2 separate regions of the Homo sapiens genome follow, and region 2 is linked to region 1. The links are contacts of gene promoters, found by promoter capture Hi-C in human tissues and cell types (Jung and others, 2019). All regions are on one chromosome and are shown on one strand. Each heading gives the region's core, a stretch centred on a gene start or on the middle of the fragment in contact. The rest is flanking DNA. Distances are from core to core; before and after follow the strand shown.

Region 1 (3,671 bases), core at 872-3,371:
TTGTCATCCTCATTATCCTGGTGCTCAGGAAGGCAATGTGAGACCTGTTGAAATAGCACGGGCTTTGGGGTCAGATGATGCTGAATTCCAGTTCTGTGTTGGCTCCTTCGTAGTTATGTGACCTCATGACGCCACTTCATGCAGGGGGTTACGTACCACTTAAATCTCCAGAACATTTTGGGAAATTGACATAGGGTTAGCAAACCTCCCCCACCCCCATATAAAAATATTAATACTTTTTTTTTTTCTGAGATGGAGTCTGGCTCTGTCGCCAAGGCTGCAGTGCAGTAGTGCAATCTTGGCTCACTGCAACATTTGCCTCCTAGGTTGAAACGATTCTCCTCCTTCAGCCTCCCGAGTAGCTGAGATTACAGGTGCTCGCTGCCACACCCAGCTAATTTTTGTATTTTTAGTAGAGATGGGATTACACCGTGTTGGCCAGCCTGGTCTCAAACTCCTGACCTCAAGTGATCCACCTGCCTCAGCCTCCCAAACTGCTGGGATTACAGGCATGAGCCACTACACCCGACCAAGAATATTAATACTTTTTTTTAAAAAATATCGAAGTTATTTATTTATTTATTTATTTATTTATTTATTTATTTATTTTGAGATGGAGTCTCTCTCTGTTGCCCAGGCTGGAGTGCAGTGGCACGATCTTGGCTCACTGCAACCTCTGTCCCCCTGGTTCAAACGATTCTCTTGCCTCAGCCTCCCGTTTGCCACCATGCCCGGCTAATTTTTTTATTTTTGGTAGAGACGGGGTTTCACCATGTTGGTCAGGCTGGCCTCAAACTCCTGACCTCGTGATCGGTGCGCCTCGGCCTCCCAAAATGCTGGGGTTACAGGCGTGAGCCACTGCACCCGGCCCCAAAATCTAACGTTTGTTATCACTGTTGTTTTAGAAAAGAAAGGACATTTTAATGCAACCCATGCCCATCTGTAGGGGCTGAAGGTCCCTCTGAGGTGATTGATAAAGCTGAAAAAAGAGACTATGGGAAGAGAAGAGGAATATTATCAATTAGCTATTTTAGAAGCAGGGCAAACTATGAGCTAGGTATTCCTATAAGGAAATGAAATAATTTACTAAAAAACATACAGCAAGAAAATAATAGAGCTGGAGTTTTCTGATTTTTCTGAGTCCAGAATTTGTTTCACTGTTCTCATTTCAGCTCTCTCTAACAGGATGAATGACCTTGATTTCAGAATCCCCAAGCAGGTGGTGAGATCCAAAACTGAGACAAAAGAAACGGGGCTGTTCCAAAAAAAAAGCTAGGTGGCAGGTGTCTAACATGCCAGGGAGCTAAAACAGAGTGTGTGAGTTTCAGCAGCAGGTTGAATTTAGAATGGGGAAGGAGACCAGAGGAGACGCCAGACAGGATGACTTTGTCCCATTGGCCTGGAGGCAGCCCCATGTTTCTCCACCCCTCATATCACTCACCAGTTTGTAATAGTATCTTTGAATGACGATCTGATTAAGGTCCGTCTCCTCCATTAGTCCACAAGTTTCGGGGGTACATCTACTTTGCTCATTTCCATATCCCCAGAGTCTAGCACAAGGCCTGGTACATAGTAGGTGCTCAATAAATATGTTAGATGAAAGGAAGATAACACCTCTATGTACTAGCAGTGAGACTCCAGGCATGCAATTTCTCTCTGTCCTTCAGTCCCTTCATCTCAAGGTTTAATTTAAATATGGTAACGCCTGTATGCAACTCCCAGCATCCAGTAGGCACTCACTAAACACAGTTCTCCACCCTCCTTTTTTCCTCTGCCCCTCCCTCGGTTTTCCCACTACTTCCTGCATGGTGACACACCCATAGTTTGGAGCCATAAAACCCAACCCAGGTTGGACTCTCACCTCTCCAGCCCCTTCTGCTCCGGCCCTGTCCTCAAATTGGGGGGCTGATGTCCCCATACACCTGGCTCTGGGTTCCCCTAACCCCAGAGTGCAGGACTAGGACCCGAGTGGACCTCAGGTCTGGCCAGGTCGCCATTGCCATGGAGACAGCAACAGTCCCCAGCCGCGGGTTCCCTAAGTGACTGGTTACTCTTTAACGTATCCACCCACCTTGGGTGATTAGAAGAATCAATAAGATAACCGGGCGGTGGCAGCTGGCCGCACTCACCGCCTTCCTGGTGGACGGGCTCCTGGTGGCTGTGCTGCTGCTGTGAGCGGGCCCCTGCTCCTCCATGCCCCCAGCTCTCCGGCTGGGTGGGCTTGGCCATGGTCAGCGTGAACGCGCCCCTCGGGGCTCCAGTGGAGAGTTCTTACGGTAAGTGGGGCTGGGGGAAGACTGGACAGGGCGGGACTGCGGTCAGCTTTGGGAGGCCATGGGACACCTCCCCGTGTGTTTCTTACGGGCCCAAAGCTCCTCCTGGAGCTCCTCTGGAAGGGCAGGAAGCCCCACGGAGGCAATGTGACCGCTTCCCTAAGCTCTCAAGCCGGGGCATGGCCTGCTTGGTGCGAGAAGTGCTGGGAGGGGCCGAGAAGCCCTGGGGCAGAGGCTTGGCTCATTTTGTCTGTCCAGAGGCCTTCCTGGGAATGCATCTCAGGGGTCTTTCCAAAACCCCACAGAGGGTGGGGCTTGGAAGCACCGTCCTGTTTCGATGCGGGGCAAATTGAGGTCCACCAGGAGAGGCTTGCTGGGCCTAGGTCACGTTGCTGGTGCATTATCAAGCTGGGCGTGGGACCGGGCAGCTCGGTCGCTCCGCACCTCCGTTGGCTCTGGATAATGGGGAGGAGGTAGAAAGCGCCGCGCAGGGTGGAGCGTTGGAAAATGAGAATATCTTGTGCGGACGTGTGAAACTCAGATGCAGGGCTAGAAAGCATGTGTTACTGAGAGTGAAAGGCTCAGGCTCACTCCTTAGGGTGACCCCCACATTGGAAGCAACCCAATGTCCCTCAGCAGAGGGAAGACGGGTAAATAAAGCGTGAGACGTCTTTACAGTGGAATGCTATCCCATTGTTCAAGGAAACAACGCACATCTGTGTGTGACAGGGAAGAACCTCTCAGTTAAATTAAGTGAAAACGGTACACTGAAGAACTGTGTAGTTGCTGATAGCGAAACGGATATAGATGTATATATGTACACACGCGTATACGTGTACATTCCACGCATAGAAAATTCGTGGAATGACACAATAAAATTGGTGACAGGTTTGTTTCTGAGGAGGGAAATTCAAGAGAATGTTTTATCTTTTGGGGACACATTTTGGATTTTTTAAAAGTTGGGTGCCTTTTATAAACCTGTTCAAATCACACACCCGCACAGAACTTGGTCTCTGGAATCCAGCAGACCTCGGGGTCTAGTTGTGACTCTGTCACACGGCTCAACATTCACGTGCCTCTTGCTTTCTTTCTGAAGTGGAGACAGGACTAGGATGTGTCTTAAGATCATGGTGGATGCCGTGGGGAACAAGGATGTAAAGCCCTTGATACCACGTGCATTGCAAAGACACAATCAACATTTATGTCATCAATTGCTGAGGACAGAGGGCCAGGGAATGACAGAATCAGGGCCTGATCTCCTGACTCTAGTCAGGAAGAATCTTCTTTGCTTTGACCCCCATCAAACAGGAATATGTGATGCACTGGAAATGGCAGAGGCTGAAGAAACCAACAGCCTGGGAACCCATCCCACACACCAGCTGTGTGACCTTGGGCAAG
Region 2 (3,652 bases), core at 59-2,558, 270 kb after region 1:
CAAGCTCTGGGCATCCACTGGATAAGATCCCAGACACTGGGCAAGTCCTATCAGCTCTACTTTGGAACTGCATACCAGTTCTCACCCCTCCATCCTGGCCTGAATCACGCCATCTCTAACTGGCCTCCCTGTCTCCATGCTTGCCCCTGTCATCCTGTTCTCCACCCAGCAGTTGGGGCAATCTTTTAAGAAGGTAAATCAAAGCATATCACTTCTCCCCTCGAAGCCCCAGTAGCTTCCTGCCACGGAGAGTGACATCGCAACTCCCAGGTCCTGCCCACAAGGCCTGCATCCTCCAGGCCTTGCCAGCCTCCCCAGCACCTTCCTTCTCCCTCATTCCCTGAGGCCACCGGAGAAGACACAGGCCTGCTCTTCCCCGATACTGTCCTACACTGCGTCTCTCCCGCTCCCCTGGTTTAGAGCCAGCTGAAGCTTCACCTCCTCAGAGAGGCCTTCCCTGACCACCTTATCTTTTTTTTTTTTTTTTGAGACAGAATCTTGCTCTGTCGCCCAGGCTGGAGTGCAGTGGCGCCATCTCAGCTCACTGCAGCCTCTGCCTCCTGGGTTCAAGTGATTCGTCTGCCTCAGCCTCCCAAGTAGCTGGGATTACAGGCGCATGCCACCACGCCCGGCTAATTTTTTGTATTTTTAGTAGAGACAGCGTTTCGCTGTGTTAGCCAGGATGGTCTCGATCTCCTGACCTCATGATCCGCCCACCTCAGCCTCCCAAAGTGCTGGGGATACAGGCGTGAGCCACTGTACCTGGCCCAGACCGCCTTATCTTAAAACGGCCCCTCCACCATTCTCCTGGGCTTTCTTTTTCTCCCAGGTCCTTATCACTACTCAACATTGTGTGTCATATGGCTTATCAGCCAGTTTGCTGTATTCCCTACTAGAATGCAGTCTCCATGTGGCAAGGACCCCTCTGTCTTGGGATGGCTGCGACCTCTCAGCTGAGGACCATGCCTAGGACAGAGTAGCCCAATATTTGTTGGTGATGGAGTTAAGGCTGGCAGGGAAGAGAAATGAGAGAAAAGGACACAGCTGGACAAGTCCAGAGGGATGCCTGGATGTGGGAGACACGTGGGATACAGTCATGGACTTGGATCCTTGTGCCCACACTTATCTGCTGTGTGACCCCTGGTTAGTCACCCTCTGACACCTAGGTCAAGGAGTTATTGCGGGGACAAATGAGTCAAACTTCATAAACCCCACCCGGGTCAGTGCTTGGAGCAGAGCGGACAAATGCTCAAAACATTTTCGTTGTTATTACTGCATGTTTGTTCCAGAAGCAAGGCACAAATTGGCCTGCCAGGGCCACTGTGTTGATCACGTAACGGTGGACTGTGCTTAGCTGGAAGTTCCCACCATGAAGAGTGAAAATGAAGTGGTTACTAGAATGTGTGAGGGAAGGCACACAAGTGCTGGGAGAGCCCAGCGTGGGAAGAAAGTGCCCTGCCCAGGGGAGATCAGGCCACTCTCAGGAGAAGGGGTCACCAGAAGTTCTTGCATCTTCAGGATGAGGATGGAGGCCAGGCGCAGTGGCTCACGCCTGTAATCCCAGCATTTTGGGAGGCCGAGGCGGGCAGATCACCTGAGGTCAGGAATTCGAGACCAGCCTGGCAAACATAGTAAAACCCCATCTCTACTAAAAATACAAAACCATTAGTTGGGTGTGATGGTGGGTGCCTGTGATCCCAGCTACTTGGGAGGCTAAAGCAGGAGAATCCCTTAAACTGGGAGGTGGAGGTTGCAGTGAGCTGAGATCGCACCACTGCACTTCAGCCTGGGCAACAGAGTGAGACTCTGTCTCAATAAATAAATAAATAAATAAATAAATAAATAAATAAAGCAGTCATGGAAATTTCTCTCTAGTACTCGCCCATACCCCTTCTGGGCCTTTTCGGTACCTAGTGCTGTTCCCTGGCGACTCAAGACAAGAAAAAGAAAAAGCCTTTTGGAGAATCTTCCCCACATCTCCCCGCCCCCACCCTATATTCAGGCCTCTCCTCCCCTCACAACACGAAGCCCTGAACTAGGAGATAGATGGCCCGGGTTCAAGCCCTGCACTGCCTCTGACCCTGTGTTCTTAGCTCCCATATTCTGCCATTTCTCTGTAGAACTTGAAGCAATTTCAGTCCATCACACCCACATCTCAGAAGGGAAAACTGAGGCCTAAAGGCACTGGAGAGACTCACTAAGTGTACACAATGGTGAGAAAGACAGCTGTGGTTTCAGAGCAACTTCTCTGGCCCCCACAGGCTGAGGGACAGGCCTGGTCCTAGTCATAGGGATCAATGCTGCCCTAGGACCTGTGGGTTGGGGGCAACTCACGCGATAGCAGGCATGTAGTAGTCAAACTTGGCCAGGAAGTCTGGAAGGGTGAGCGGCTTGTCCATGCCAATGACGTTCAGCAGCCCCTCTGCTGTGTTAGCTGGGAGGGCGATCCCTCTCCTCCTGGAAACAAAACAGTGAGTGGTGGACCAACCCGGGGCAGGATCCAGGCAGGCCTGACAGGCCAGGATGGAGCAGACTCAGGAGCGCCAGCCTCCTTGCAGGACCACAGCAGGAGACATGGGCGTCTCTCAGTCCAGCTGCTCCCACTGGACAGATGGGGAAACTGAGAACCAGGACCGGAATTTTTCCAGCACCTTCTACCCCCAATGCACAAGTCAGCAAATCTCAAGGGGGATAAACAGGTTGAAGTGTGTGTGTGTGTGTGTGTGTATGTGTGCACACATGCACACACCCCCTCCATATCCTTGGTTGACTGATGCTTGGAGACAAGGAAAGTGCCAGGTCAAGTTCATGGCTTCCTCCTCAGCCCCAGGAGCTGGCTCAGCCAGCTGGTCCTATGCCCAGTCAGGGGTTATCAGGGGCAGTAACTGCAGCATCACAATTCCCAGGGTAGGGGCAGGCATCAGGACTTCACCCTCCATCTGGCTGGCACATCAGAGGCTTGCCCAGCCCAGCGCACTGGGAGAGGGCCGGTGGAGGCTCAGGGGAGGGGCCCAGTGGGCCGCCAGCCAGCTCAGACCTCTCTCCCCTCCCTGCCCACAGCCGCCACACCAAGCTGGACTACAGCAGCGCTCAGTAAGAGCGTGCTGGAAACAGCCCCTCTGGCTTGGAGCCTCCATTTCTCCCCAAGCATCTCGGCCTCCCCTCCCAGCCACGGGAAGCAGGGTGCGAGCTCAGGGGGGCTCCCTCTCTTCTGCACACGCTCCTGCCTCCTCATCCCATCCCGGCTCTGCTCCAGCTCACAAGGTCACCTCGAGCCTCAGTTTCCCCCCCCTTTTTTTTTTAAGATACAACAGCCAGAGAACACCAGACATTAAGAAATGCTTCTAGGCTGGGCATGGTGGCTCACGCCTGTAATCCCAGCACTTTGGCCTCCCAGGCCAAGGTGCGAGGATCATGAGGTCAGGAGATTGAGACTATCCTGGCCAACATGGTGAAACCCCGTCTCTACCAAAAATACAAAAATTAGTTGGGTGTGGTGGTGTGTGCCTGTAATCCCAGCTACTCAGGAGGCTGAGGCAGGAGAATCACTTGAACCAGGGAGTCAGAGGCTGTGGTGAGCCGAGATCATGCTACTGCACTCCAGCCTGGTGACAGAGCAAGACTCTGTATCACAAAAAAAAAAAGAAAAAAA

The links. Contacts are between HindIII fragments. The study calls those that stand out against the background at their distance.
Region 2: a fragment that was not itself captured here is called in contact with the fragment with the promoter of HNF4A in region 1 in 1 of the 25 tissues and cell types used here (aorta).

The regions. Positions count from the first base shown.
Region 1 is chr20:44,353,578-44,357,248 of GRCh38, forward strand. It overlaps HNF4A (hepatocyte nuclear factor 4 alpha), which reads left to right and starts at 2,122. Exons shown (of 10, transcript NM_175914.5): 1 at 2,122-2,276. The coding sequence starts at 2,228. R3HDML-AS1 (R3HDML antisense RNA 1) reads right to left here and starts at 1,665. Exons shown (of 4, transcript NR_184036.1): 1 at 1,442-1,665. It overlaps HNF4A-AS1 (HNF4A antisense RNA 1), which reads right to left. Exons shown (of 3, transcript NR_172878.1): 3 at 3,167-3,671. The HindIII fragment of the contact is 37,265 bases long and covers 1-3,671 here.
Region 2 is chr20:44,626,713-44,630,364 of GRCh38, forward strand. ADA (adenosine deaminase) reads right to left here. Exons shown (of 12, transcript NM_000022.4): 3 at 2,335-2,457. Among named protein-coding and RNA genes, the nearest start is that of ADA, 23 kb to the right of the region's middle. RefSeq lists enhancers at 2,292-3,652, 2,529-3,279, 3,280-3,652. The HindIII fragment of the contact is 7,776 bases long and covers 1-3,652 here.